Regions from separate parts of the Homo sapiens genome. Here regions 1 and 3 are each linked to region 2. Evidence: promoter capture Hi-C in human tissues and cell types (Jung and others, 2019). All regions are on one chromosome and are shown on one strand. The core of a region is centred on a gene start or on the middle of the fragment in contact, and the rest is flanking DNA. Distances in the headings are between cores, read along the strand shown. Region 1 holds the start of AATK (apoptosis associated tyrosine kinase). Region 2 holds the start of ENDOV (endonuclease V). Region 3 holds the start of TMEM105 (TMEM105 long non-coding RNA).

Region 1 (4,786 bases), core at 664-3,163, 750 kb after region 2:
TGGTGCAGAGCCTAGACCCAGCCCCTTAATCCGAAGGAGGGTCTCCTTCCTCACCAGCACCAGCACCTTGGGCAGCCCCTCCTGGTAGGTGGGCCCCAGAGCCCAGCAGGTGCCTGCAGCTCTGGCCCAGCATCTTGCAGAGGAGAGACGCCCCTTGCCTCCAACAACTTCTTTTCCTCTAAGTCATTAAACGGACACATTAGAATTATTCAGATCACAGCTGTTTACCCAGAGAAGGGCAGAGCCGGTGCTGCTCGAAGGCGGGGGAAAGGGCCTCTCATGGCCAAGGACAAGGCTGGGCCCCGAGGCAGGGTATGGGCCGAGGGTCCTCTCTGTTCTGGGGGCAGAAAGGACCAAGCACCGTGGGCCACGCCTGGCATGGAGATGTGATGAGGACCTGCCCCAAGCCTCCTCCACCCCCTGCCCTTGGGCCGGGGAGACATTACAGCTGTTGCCGTGGCTGTTGGGCTCTGAGCCTTCACCTGCCCACCCCACAGGGACTTCCGAGCCCCAGGGGTCACTACAGGAAGTCATTTCTGAGCAAGTGACACCCACAGCCCTAAGCCCAGCAGACAGACCTCCCACCAGCTCCCTTCCTCCAGGGAGCAAATGCCTTCAGACCGAGATCTGCCCCGGGGACCCCCGTGCCTCCCTGCCAGGCTGCGTGCACTGGGCCCTGCTCCAGGGAAGGAGACACAGGAGATCACGTCACATGCAAACAGGCTTTGTTTGGGCTGGCTCAGCCTGGTGCCAGAGCCCCAGTGACGTGTGGGTGGGACTTGGCCCTGGGGCCATGGATGGCACAGGGCAGGGGGATTATCTCCCACTCAGGCCAAGCAGGGGCCGGATCTGGAGAAGCAGAGGTTTTAGAAAGCCCACTGCTTCCTGGTGACAGATGGGGCTTCCAGCTGTCCCCAGCCCCCTCTGCCTATCCCAGCTGTCCACCACAGCCAGGAGGCCAGGCAGCCATGGGTAATCTCGCCCTGCCCGGTGCACTGGCCATACGGGGTAAGAGGCCTGGCCTCAGGTCCCCTGCAGCCAGCTTGACAGCGTCACCTCGGGCCCCCACTGTCAGGGGATCTGGGCACCCACCAAGGCCCCTCTCTTCTGAGCCTCTGCCCACTGGGCTCTGTAATGTGGACTGGCCCCTGCTCCCCCCACATCCCCCGCCGGCTGCTGGTGGCTGGGCAGGGCTCTGAGAATCGCTCCCAGCCTGGGAAGAAGCCTCCCACGCCAGGGCCCCGGACCCAGGAGAGGCCATGGAAAGCCTGAACCCCAGCTGGCTGACACCCCCCACACCCCCAAGGGCCCTTAGTCTGAGACCAACTCTCCTGGACACCAGGGGCCCACGCAGGCCCTCCGTGCCCCAGTTACCTGTGCCCTGGAGGCAGCCACGGAGTCACGACCACGCGGGGGACGCCAGCCCACAGGCGGAGGCCGGTTTGTGCTGGGGCCCAGGGCCTGCCCCTCCGAGATCTGGGGCCGCCAGGGGGTCCGGCTGCTTCTGCTGCTGGGCTCGGGGCGGGGAAAGGGTTAATTTCCATGCAAACCGGGAGCCGTGGGGCCCAGGGGCATCACGTCCGCAGCGGAGGGAGGCAGCGGCGCGCAGGCCGGGCCGCCAGGGACTCACCGGGGTCGAAGTGCGAGCTGAAGGCGAAGCTGGGGTTGAAGAAGGACGACGACATGGCCGGGCCAGCGGCCGGCGGGCATCCCGGGAGGGCGCTGCGCTCAGGACGCCCGCGGCCCCGGCCCGAGCCGCCGCATCACCCAGCGGCCGCCGCAGGTGCGGAGCGCGCCGGCCCCCGCGCCCCGCGCCCCCCGCCGCAGCCGCAGAGCCCGCACCGGTGGGGGCGGCGGCGACAGACGAGGCGCTCCGCCCGGCCCTGGCGCCGCGGGGCTCCGCTGGTGCAGTCCGAAAACGCGGGCGGGAGCGCGCGCGGAGCGGCGCGGGGGAGGGGGGGGCCCTCCGCGGCCGGGGTGGCATGGGGGGAGCACGGAGAGGGGGACACGGAGGGGGAGACAGAGGGGAGCACGGAGTGGGGGACACAGAAGGGGGCTTGGAGGGGGGACACGGAGGGGAGGCATGGAGGAGGGGGGACGGGGGGCCGTGCACGGAGCGGGGATGGCACGGAGTGGGGGGATGGTCCGGAGCGGGAAGCACGGCGGCCTGGGGCTGAGGGGGGCACGGAGGCTGGCGGGGGGGGGGGAAACGGAAGTCGTGAATGGTAAGTCGTGAGTGGGTACGGAGGGAACGCCGGGGTGGGGGAGGGGGTACTCCTAGGTGGAAAGGTTCAGGGAGACAGGTGGGGGAACCCGGGAGCACACCCAGGGCGGGTCTTGGTGCTCAGGGGCCCTCGCCTCACTTGCAGGTTTCGAGGCGGCTGGCAGCCGCCCCCCCACCCCATGCCCTTTGGGTGGCACCTGTGCTGGTGGAGTGGGGGTGGCTGGCTTTGCACACAGGCCTGCTCCTGTACCGTGCTGCGACAGCCATGAAGGAAGAACCTGGCTGAGTCTCCACCTGCCGTGGACTGTACCAGGTGCTTAGGGCAGCAGGTTGGCCTGGGCGCTGAGGGGCCATCCCTTCCCCTATGTTTCTCCCAGGATCCCCCATCCCCGCCCAAAGTGCCACCTTGCAGGGTTGGGGCGGGGCAGGGTCCCCCCAGCCTGCCCCCGTGGGAGTCGGGAGAGTTAAAGTTCAGTGGAAGCTGGTCCCAGTGGCTCATGCCTGTAATCCCAGCACTTTGGGAGGCCAGGGCAGGCGGGTGGCTTGTGCTCAGGGGTTCCAGACCAGCCTGGGCAACATAGCAAGACACTTTCTCTACAAAAATTAGAAAAATGAGCCAGGCATGGTGGCGCTCACCTGTAGTCTCAGCTACTTGGGAGGCTGAGGTGGGAGGATCACTTGAGCCTGGGAGTTAGAGGCCGCAGTGAGCCAAGATGGCACCACTGCACTCCAGCCCGGGTGACAACAAGATCTTGTCTCAAAAAAAGTGTCCTGGAGACTTGCAGTTGAGTTTGATGCACCCTCATCCACTCATTCATTCACTCACTCATTCATTCACTCACTCATTCATTCACTCACTCATTCTGGGACCAGATGGCTAAGCCCCTTGGCAAGGCCCAGTTGGGGTTGGGGGCTGTGGAGCAGGTGAGAGGCGCCCACTCCAACAGGGCTCTTAGGACTTTAGGGAGAGAAAGGAGCCTGTTCCCGGCAGAGGGACCTGCAGAGACCAGGACAGGATGCTTGGGCCACGGGGCAGATGGGCACCAGGACCCACCCTTCTTTTCCTAAGGGGGTCCCTCATGTAGGAAGTTTCCTCCTAACAGGCAAAGCAAGGGGCCTCCACCCTGTGCCCTCAGACCTTAGGGGTCCCTGGCTGTAGGAGACAAGACACCAACTGCACCTGGGGCAGAAGGAGACAGGGCACCCAGAGCCTTCTTCCTGGCCCTGATCATGTGGCCAGCCAAGGTTCTAAGGGGCGCTGCCGCCAGGCTGCCGTTGCAGGTAAAGAAGCCGCGTGGGTAGAGTGGCTGAAGGGGGCCTTGCCCGCAGGAGGCACTCAGAGGCCTTGGGCCACCTCGTTCAGTCTGTGTCTTCAGGGAGCCCAGAGGGCTGGGAGGATCAGTGCCCACCCAGTGGCAGGGATGGTTGGTGCCAGCAGGCTGTGATCCTGGAGTGCTCCAGTGTGAGGGACAGAGGGTATGGCATACCCTCATGAGTCTCCACTCTGGGTCCCCTGTCAGGGCCTCCCCTCCCCAGCTCAGGAGGGAGTGCCCTCCTCTGCCCAGCCTGGAAGGTGCCCTAGACACCTGGACCTAGGCAGGGGGAGGTGGCCAGTGGCCGTGGGTGGTTGCTGGTTGGCATGTTGGGGAGAGTTTCTGTCCAGAACTTCCATGCCCTCAGTGTCCCTGCCTTGATGACCAGGGCCAGAAACAGCTTGCTGTGACCAGGGGCTGGCTCCTCTCAGTTTTGCCTGTGAACACACACATGTACACTTGTGGCTGGGCCACAGCTCAGGGGCTTCAAGCTGTGGATCTTCTTGGGGCTCCAGGAAGGACAGGGGAGGAGCTGCCCCTGGGCTCCAAGCCAGCACTCCCACCCTACGTAACCAGAGCGACACCCCTTCTCCAGGAAGCACAGGGCCCTCTGAGATTTCGCTGGAACCAGGAGTTCAGATGCTTCCACTGACCGTGACCCTAGTGGGGCCCCCCAGGTGCTGGCTTTTGCCCACGCTGGGACAGGATCAGTGAGCACCTCTGGGTAAGAGGTCCCTGAAGACATAGCTGTCTGCTATCCCCCGGCCTGGGGGAAGGCATGATCTCCGCCCCTGGGACTCTCTAGAGCCCAGAAGGAGCTGACCGAGGAGCCCAGATTGGCTGGGAGAGTGTCGGTGCAGAAGCATTGCCCGTCGAAGAGGAAAAAGGCCAAGAACCCAGCAGGAAGCCCAGGTGTGGTGGAAAAGAGGGGGCAGGGGCAGGAGAGAGCCTGGGGGTCTGGGGATTAGAGACCAGAGTGAGGAACGCACCTCAGGAGCAAAGTTTAGGGGGCACCCAAAAACTCAGCAGTTATGCCCATCCACAGATAAACCATCAACAGGATGTGATCTGTCCATACGATGCAATGGTATTGGTCCATACACAGGACCAAAGCTCTGACCACACTATAACATGCATGACACATGCTACCACATGGATGACACATGAAAATATGCTCAGTGAAAGACACAGAAGGCCACAGAGTGTGTGATTCCACTTGTATGAAATGTCTGGAACAGACAAATCCACG
Region 2 (4,203 bases), core at 888-3,387:
TCCCACTACTGAGTGAGATTCTCAGAGAGGGAGAATAAGGGAGACCACCCCTCATATTGTTTTACGCCCAATTTCTGCCTCCAAAGAGAGAAGTAAAAACTAAAAGGCAGAAATGAAATCCACAAGCAGACAGCCTGCACCACACCCTGGGCCTGGTAGTTAAAGATCGACGCCTGACCTAATCAGTGATGCTATCTATAGATTACAGACGTTATATAGAAAAGCACCGTGAAAATCCCTGTCCTGTTCTGTTCCGTTCTAATTACGGGTGCATGCAGCCCCCAGTCACGTACCCCCTGCTTGCTCAATCAATCACGACCCTCTCACGCAGACCCCTGAAGAGTTGTGAGCCCTTAAAAGGGACAGGAATTGCTCACTCGGGGAGCTCGGTTGTTGGAGACGTGAGTCTTGCCGAAGCTCCCAGCTGAATAAAGCCCTTCTTTAACTCGGTGTCTGAGGGGTTTTGTCTGCGGCTTGTCCTGCTACACTCTGGTGGGAAAGACACCGCAGCAGGGGAGCAGGGTGCGCAGGGTGCAGTGGGTGACGCTCATTCGCTGAAAACTGACCCTGCTTTCAAAGCCTTGTCAGTTCCCAAAGCTGTATGAAGCCTTTCCTGAGCCTCAACCTCTAGAGTCTAATTTCATCCTCTGTATTTTCCCCTTTGTTAGTCCAAACTGCGTCATTTTGTAAGCCCCTTTCCATTTTGTAGACCTTGGTCAAAGTGAAACATTCCACGGGGGTTCGAGCCATGAGAAACAGCCTGCCTCTTAACATATTCTGCTGGGACAAAGCGCCAGGAACACCACATTCTGCCGGAACCACCTCATCCTGGGAACACGTTAACATCTTCCCGGACAGCAAGCCATACTGCCTAGATCCCTCCTGCCCAGGCCTATGAGTACCCCAGCCTGTAATCGCTGGTGGGCTCTGGCATTAAGCTGGCCCCCGACAGGTGTTTGCAATACACCTGTGTTGCTGTAGAGCCGCCCGCGCGCCGGCAATCTCACTGTGCGTCATTCTTTAACCTTCACCTTCCCTTCAAAACCTAACACCCTTGACGTTTATATTCAGGCTATTATATATACATACACACATACACCCTTCTGAATCCTCCCAGGAGAATATAAAACCATGGGTTAAACTGCTACACTTCAGCTTCAGTGGCTGCCTTTCAGTGCTTCAAATACACCAACCTCTTTCCCACCCCGGGACCTGCACGAGAAAGCTGCTCCACTCACCCGCCGTGCTCTTTCACTCACCCTTCAGGTGTCTTCAATATCGCCTCTCAGGCCTTTCCCAACCACCGGTTTAAAGTCGGCTCCCCACAAATAAATACATATTCTCCCTCACAGTACTTCGCACAACACCTGGCACAGCGAGAGCACTGAACCAACACTCATTCAATGAGGAACACGAGGTAAGAACCAAGACCCCCCAAGGTCGCCGTACTTTGTCTGGTAGGAGAAGCTTTCTGCCCAGCAAGGTCCGACCCAGATGAAACCCCGTCCAAGTCTGCAGCACCCCCGTGAGTCCAGCCCGCTAAACTGTGAAGAATTTAAATACACGACACCTGCCCTCAAAAGCTTGAGGGCACCCCTGAGCTGCCATCGAGGTGGGGGCGTCAACGACAGGCGCTCAGTAAGTGCTCCTGAGGCAACTGCCGGGCTGTCCTGGACCTGGTGAATCCTTTCGGGGTTCAGCAAAGGCGGACGCTGACCGGGCCAAGGAGTGGGACCTGCAGTGCTGGACCACCCTTTTCCAAGCGCAGAAGTGCCGTGCCCGCCGGCTCTCAACAGGGCAAGAGGCCCCTCTCGCCGTGCAGAGCGCAGCGCTTGCGGCGGGGACAGCAGAGGCGGGACGGGCGTCACGGAGTTCCCGGGTCCTCGCGCGGTCACTTACCTGGCCTCAGCTATCCGCTGAAAAAGGGGCGGACGGCCTCCCGGGATCCGAGCCGATATCGCGCGCGGCGCCGCGGGGCAACCTGAAGCCGTGTGCGTGCGTGTGCGTTCACGCAGGGGCTCACCCAGCGGCCACGGGCTTCTGAAGACCCGGGTGGGAAGTGCGGCCCGGGAAAGCGCAAGCGTCTCCATGGCAACGAGGGCGGACGGCGTCAGAGCGAGTCGCTTCCGGAAGTGACGTGCGGAAGGGGTGCCCGGGACGAAGCCATGGCCCTGGAGGCGGCGGGAGGGCCGCCGGAGGAAACGCTGTCACTGTGGAAACGGTAATGCTGTCAGGCGACGCGCAGGAGGCGGGGGCCGAGGCCGGGCGGCCCTTCGCGGACCCTCCGAGCTCATAGTCTTCAGGCTGTGGAATCGGAGCTGCCACCGCCCGAGACTCCAAAGCAAAGCCCAGTTTCCGGCGCGGAAGCGGAGGGATCTCAGGAATTGTAGTCCGCGGGGTGGGCGCGGTTCTCGCTTCCGGCCAGTTTGTCTGGCCTGCGCTTGCGCGGGTCTCCGCCGCCTGGGCTCCTAGGGACTGTGGCCTCGGCGGTATGTCCCTTGCTTTCCCTTGAAGCGGGAGAAGACCCGGCAGAGGCGCTCTGTCCGCTGCAGCCGCGCGGGTGGAGGAGGCAGAGTCTGAGGTGTGACCCCGACCAAGTTTGACGCTTCTGTCCTCCTAGGGAGCAAGCTCGGCTGAAGGCCCACGTCGTAGACCGGGACACCGAGGCGTGGCAGCGAGACCCCGCCTTCTCGGGTCTGCAGAGGGTCGGGGGCGTTGACGTGTCCTTCGTGAAAGGGGACAGTGTCCGCGCTTGTGCTTCCCTGGTGGTGCTCAGCTTCCCTGAGCTCGAGGTAACCTGGGAGGACGCCGAGCTCGAGGCGGGCCCCTCGGTGGGCTCGGGCGTGCGGTCTCCGGGACAGGGAGCAGTGCAAGCGTAGAACCCGGCTTCTCGTTTTGTAGGATGTCATTAATAGTCTGGGGAGTTGGCCGGGCGCGGTGGCTCACGCCTGCAATCCCAGCACTTTGGGAGGCTGAGGCGGGGGAATCACCTGAGGTCGGGAGTTCGAGACCAGCCTGACCAACATGGAGAAACCCGGTCTCTACTAAAAATACAAAATTAGACGGGTGTGGTGGCATATACCTGTAATCCCAGCTACTCGGAAGGCTGAGGCGGGAGAATCGCTTGAACCCGGGAGGCGGAGGTTGCGGTGAGCCAACATCACGCCATTGCACTCCAGCCTCGGCAACAAGAGCGAAACTCCATCTCAAAAAAAAAAAAAAAAAAAAAAAGTCTGGGGAGTCTTGGAAGGGAAAAAAAGGCAAAAATTAAGGGAATTCTGTGACTATTAAGAATCAGCTCATGAGCTTTATCTTCAAGTCTGATTGTTATCTTGGGTTCTTCATCTCAGTGACCTGTCCACCACGCTCCCAGTTGCCCAAGCTGGAGATCTGCATCCTCCTGGGCCCCTCCGTTCCTCTCGCGTCCAGTTGCACACTAGCTCGCTTTTATTCTGCCTCTTAAATGTCGCTGGAATCTGTCCCCTTGTCTGTTTCCCCTCTGCTCCTTCCCTGGCTGTGCCACCATCACTCCTGTGGGTTCCTGAGCAGCATTTTCATGGGTGCCCTGGCTCAAATGTTCCTCCTCAGTGGTTTCTTTTCCATACTGCCAGCAGACCAATTTTCCTAAAAAGCAAGTATTTTCCTCAAAAGCAACAAGTCCCCTCCCTCCCTCCCTCCCTCCCTTCCTTCCTTCCTTCCTTCCTCCCTTCCTTCCTCTCTCTGTCTCTCTTTCCTTCCTTTCCCCTTCCCCCACTCTGTGCCCAGGCTGAAGTGCAGTGGCATAATCTTGGCTCACTGTCAAGATCTGATCTCAACCTCCTGGACTCAAGTGATCCTCCCACCTTAGCCTGAGTAGCTAGGACCACAGGTGTGAGCCACTACACCCGGCTTATTTTTTTATTTTTTGTAGAGACAGGATCTCACTATGTTGCCCAGGGTGGTCTCCAGCTCCTGGGCTCAAGGGATCCTCCTACCTTGGCCTCCCCAAGTGCTGAGATTACAGGTGGGAACCACCACACCCAGCCCACAAGTCCTCTTAGAACATTGAAGTGCCCTTCTCATGACCTCATGGTGAATAAAGTTCACTCTGGTTGGCATGGCTTCAAGGCCCGTCATGACCTGTCCCCTGCGTAATTTAATATGACGCTGGAGGCTCAGCCCTCACCACTATTCTCAGTTCTTCCCACCTCCTACAGCCCACTG
Region 3 (4,396 bases), core at 945-3,444, 920 kb after region 2:
TAGGGAGGACACAGTGCCCGCAAGAGGGACTGGGCAAGAGGTGGACAGGCAGGGGGTGGGGGCATTCTGTGTGCCCCAGAGCCTGAGTTCGCAGGCTCTCAGCAGCCCGTGCTGGGCAGCAGTGTGGGCGTCTCTCCCGCAGGGCACCCTCTGCACTTTCCTGCAGACCTGCAGCAGCCCTTTCCTGAGGGACACCTGGCTCCGGGCCCAGGGTGGGGGCGGGGCCTCGCGTGTCTCCCCCTTGATTTGTAAGAGTCCAGGGCTGTCGGCCATGGCCACACTGAGCACCCCTGGGAGCCAAGGCAGCTTAAGGACAAGGTGTGTATGAGGACGGCGGGGCCCAGGGAGGAGAGGCTAGCCCAGGGCTACCCGGGTCCCCGGAGTAGGGGCAGGGGACTTGAAAATGAGCCCCCAAGGGGCTCTGATGGGGGCAATTCCAGGAGAGGCGTGGGCAGGTGTGGGGCTGGAGAGAGGCCTGTCCTTTTTCCCTTGCCCTGCACACTGTCTGCAGGGTGGCAGACCCAGGCTGCCTGGCGAGGCTGCTTCTGGAGGCCTGAGGAAGGCTGGGCTGAGGACTCCGCCTCTCCTCAAAGCCACAGCCTCCCTGCTCTGGGGCTACATGTCGGGAAAATCCCTGCCTGGGTTACCCCAGCTGGGGACTCAAGCTCTCTTTGGACCCTACAGAAAGAGCTGGCCAGCCCCCAGGCCAGAAGGGCCGTCCGTGACCCACAGATGGCCCCAACACACTGTAAAACACGCATGATTTATTTTAGTGTGTGTTAGAAAAATAAAGCCAACACATCAAGCCTGCAATTTCGCAGATACTAACACTTCGGACCAGGAAAAAAGAAGCCCATGACATGGCACAGCGCTGTGGAGCGAGCGAGATCTGGGATGCGTAGGCCTGGACGGCTGAGGCTTGGAAACCCCTCCCCTCCCCAAACTTTCCCACCATGCAGGGGCCCAGCAGGCCCTCAGCCCACTCACCCCGCCAGAGGAGGGAGGAGGGAGGAGGGTCCGGGCCAGGTGGGAGCTTCTCCCCGGAGGCCTGAGGCAGCTTCCCTCCTCTCCCAGGAAGGGGCTGGCCCAGGCCCAGCTAGGATGCTCCCAGCCCAGCTCCTACCCGCCGGGTCTTTCCCGTTTGTCAGGCAGGCCGGCAGGCTGGGCTGGTGACTCATGACTGGCTGGGCCATCTGCCCTGCACCCCTGCCCCGGGCGAAGTGAGAAACCTGACCGGGCTCCAGCACAGACAGGAAACCCCACCCCAGGGCCTGCAGTGGGACAGGTGTGGCCGCCCTCCACCCCCACACAGGCCTCGGGGAGGGTGTCTGAGGCCGGCCTGGCCCTCTCTGCAGCACTGAAACACCAGCTGCCTCTCCCCAGCCCGGAACTGGGGATCCAGTGTCCTCCGCACTGACCCCAGGCTCTGCTCTCCCTGGGAAGCACCCGCTTTGACAGTGGGGCCAAGGACTGGGGTTCCCACCCTCCTCTGCCCAGTGGACTTTGTGGCCCCAGGCAGGTGGCATCAGCTCTCTGGGCCTAAGCTTCTCATCTCTGCAGGGTTCATCAGCTCAACAAGCATTTGTGGGTTCCTGAGACCTGAAGGCTCCACTCCCCCACCTAAGCACACAACAGTCCAGGCACCACCCACATCTCCCTCTTACCTGGAGCAGAGGGGCGGGTGTTCGGAGCCTTGGGGCCCAGGGTCATTTGCACTGGAGGGGGCCAGGAACGCTCCCAGGAGTGTGGCAGTCCCTTCCTAGGGGGCCCCTCCTGGAGCAGCTGCCTTGAGAGCCCAGCCTACAGCAGAGCCTGGTGGGGTGGCCGGGCTACTGCTACCTGGCTTCACTGCTTTCTTCTGCCATTCCTCCCAGGCTACCCAGGAGGACGAGAGGGGCAGGGTACTGGCGGCAGCAAGAGAGAACCCGCCCAGGAGGGCCCAGCACGGGAACTCCAGCCTCCAGAGCCAGCAGAGCCACGGGAACAGGAGTTCCTCCTCACAGAGGAGGCGCTGTTGGAGGGCCAGGAGCAAACTCCCAGCAGAGCAAAATGCAGAGGTGACCAGCCCAGGGCACACCAGCCACTGAAAAACCCAACAGTGGGGGCTGCCGTGGGGATCCAGGGTTGGGGGACTCTCAGACGGCCCCCCAGGCTTGTCCCCATGCGTATTCTTTGAGCTGATGGGGACGCAGTGTTCACAGTCCTGACAGGAGGCAGGCGTGACCCCAGTCGGGGAGTGGACTTGGCCCTCTTCACACCCCCAGGGCAGAAAGCCCTGTTCAGAGGTACCAGGGAGCAGGCACAGGCCAGGGTCCGAATTCGTAACAAGCATCCGGGACTCCACATGACGCAGGTCTGAGAATCGATCCCGGGTTCCAGCCCAGCCATCATTTTCAGAGAATACGGGCCCTGTCCCGAGCCGCCAGCCATTGCCAATGGCTGCCCGGAGGAAGGGAGGAAGGGGTGCCCCCAGCTTGTGGAACCAACAAGGGCTTAATGGTAGGGCACGCCCAGGGGCAGACGCCAAGAAAGGAGAGGAGGGGGCGGGGGCTCCGGCCAGGGAAGCCGTGTCCTCTGCACCAGGCAGAACAGGGGGCTGGGCCGCCCTCAGCCTGGATCTGGCCAGGGCTGGGATGCCAGCTCTGAGAACAGGGCCCAGCCCTCACCTGCTTGGTTTGCCTCTTGCCAGGGGAAGGGGCTCAGGAAGGTTTCTGAGCTGCCCCATGCCCCTGCCTGGAGTTCCTGACCCTCGGGGGAAGCTGAGGCTACAGAGAGCACGAAGTGCAAAAGGCCTGGTGGTTGGACCCAGAGCCCCTGTCCCTGGGTCCCCGCTCCTCCCCACCACCCCGTCCCAGCTCTCCCACGCTCCCACGAGGCCACATCATCTTCTGCTCCTGCTGAGTTCCCCTTCACGCATATGAAAAGCAAATTACAGGAGGGAGAAGGCAAACCCGGGGTGAACGGGGGCCTCCTGGGACTCCTTGGACCCCCGGGAGAGCCTGTGAGGGCTTCTATGGGCCGACTGGGATCTCAGGAGCAAAATAGGGGCCCCTAGCCCACAGCGGAGGGCGACTCTAATCAGCAGAGATCGCCCAGCATGCCTTATCCTCAGCAGCTCAGGGCCACCTGTGGGGCAGGGGGAGGGGGCCTGGCCAGCTGGGTCGGCCGCCCCCGGCAAAGCCAGGGGACGCCAGGAGCGGAGCTGTGTGGTGCAGAGCAACTGTGTCCCAGGGGAGGGGGGGTCTGTCTCCGCTCCTCCCAGCTGCAGGCCCTGGGCAGCCGCAACCTCTCAGAGCCTGCCTGCCCCTCTCCTGAGGTCTGGATTTTGCCAGCACAGAGCAGGGACCTCAGCAATATGCCCAGCCTGGCGCAGGCCCAGGGCAGGCCCTCTATCCGCAGGGCATCCTCTGGTCTACAAGTTCTGTGACGACGTGGCTGGCACCAGGGTCTGAGGGCTTTGATGCTGGGGAACGTCCTTGCGCCTCTGCAGTAGATGTGAAAGTCTGTGGAGCCCGGGGACCTGGAGCAGGTGGCCTGGGTGGGGCTGCTGCCTTCTGGGCCAGGACCAGATTCCACTCCCTGGCTGGACAGCCCTGGGCACAGCGTTTAAACACCCAACACTTCAACTCTGCTCTGTGAAACGGGGATGATTCTAACAGTGCTGGATCACGGCATGGTTGGGAGGCTTGGGTGAGGTCATGTGTTCCATGATCCTGTCCACACGAAGGTCATGCAGCCTTGGGGGGCACTGGAGCGGCAGGTGTGGTTTTGGGGACCTGCCACGGGCCACAGCCCTAGACCAAGCCGGACCATCGGGACTCTTTTCCTGGAATTTGAATGCTGAGCCGAGGGACACTGGGCTTGTGCTGGGGCCACTCCCGAGCCGCTGCTGTTGGGGCCTGAACAGCGCCTTCCCCCTGCCCTCCCTGCTGCAAGCTCCAACCAAATACCTGCTCCCGGCTTCAGTTAGTCAGAGTCCACTTCTGGCACCTGCAGTCAAATTTATTGATTGATTGATTTGAGAGAGTCTTGCTCTGTTGCCCAGGCTGCAGGGCAGTGGTGAGAATAAGGCTCACTGCAGCTTCGACCTCCTGGACTCAAGCGATCCTCGGCTTCCCAAGTAGCTGGGTCTACAGGCACACACCACCACGCCTGGCTAATTTTTGTGTTTTTTGCAGAGATGGGGTCTCACTATGTTGTCCAGCCTGGGCTCAAGCAATCCTCCTGCCCTGGCTTCCCAAAGTGCTAGAATTACAGGCATGAACCACCATGCCAGCCGAAAGTGTCTCTGCACATCTGCACAAATAAAATGTATTTCTGTACGTACACTGATTTGTACCCAGAAGCCCTTTTAAAAAATATTGTGTCACCTTGGCTTCCTCTCTTACTTCTTGCT

The links. Contacts are between HindIII fragments. The study calls those that stand out against the background at their distance.
Region 1: a contact is called between the fragment with the promoter of AATK here and the fragment with the promoter of ENDOV in region 2, in 6 of the 25 tissues and cell types used here (dorsolateral prefrontal cortex, heart left ventricle, heart right ventricle and 3 more).
Region 3: a contact is called between the fragment with the promoter of TMEM105 here and the fragment with the promoter of ENDOV in region 2, in 1 of the 25 tissues and cell types used here (lymphoblastoid cells).

Annotation. Positions count from the first base shown.
Region 1 is chr17:81,164,308-81,169,093 of GRCh38, forward strand. AATK (apoptosis associated tyrosine kinase) reads right to left here and starts at 1,914. Exons shown (of 14, transcript NM_001080395.3): 1 at 1,631-1,914. The coding sequence starts at 1,685. It overlaps PVALEF (parvalbumin like EF-hand containing), which reads left to right and starts at 1,200. Exons shown (of 7, transcript NM_001354639.2): 1 at 1,200-1,440; 2 at 2,370-2,537. RefSeq lists enhancers at 1-711, 712-1,455. The HindIII fragment of the contact is 13,495 bases long and covers 1-4,786 here.
Region 2 is chr17:80,413,030-80,417,232 of GRCh38, forward strand. It overlaps ENDOV (endonuclease V), which reads left to right and starts at 2,138. Exons shown (of 10, transcript NM_173627.5): 1 at 2,138-2,221; 2 at 2,621-2,792. The coding sequence starts at 2,166. RNF213-AS1 (RNF213 antisense RNA 1) reads right to left here and starts at 2,139. Exons shown (of 2, transcript NR_029376.1): 1 at 1,900-2,139. RefSeq lists an enhancer at 2,571-2,660. The HindIII fragment of the contact is 5,195 bases long and covers 680-4,203 here.
Region 3 is chr17:81,328,480-81,332,875 of GRCh38, forward strand. TMEM105 (TMEM105 long non-coding RNA) reads right to left here and starts at 2,195. Exons shown (of 3, transcript NR_165247.1): 1 at 1,665-2,195. RefSeq lists enhancers at 1-535, 536-1,107, 1,108-1,677, 2,821-3,391, 3,392-3,962. The HindIII fragment of the contact is 14,660 bases long and covers 1-4,396 here.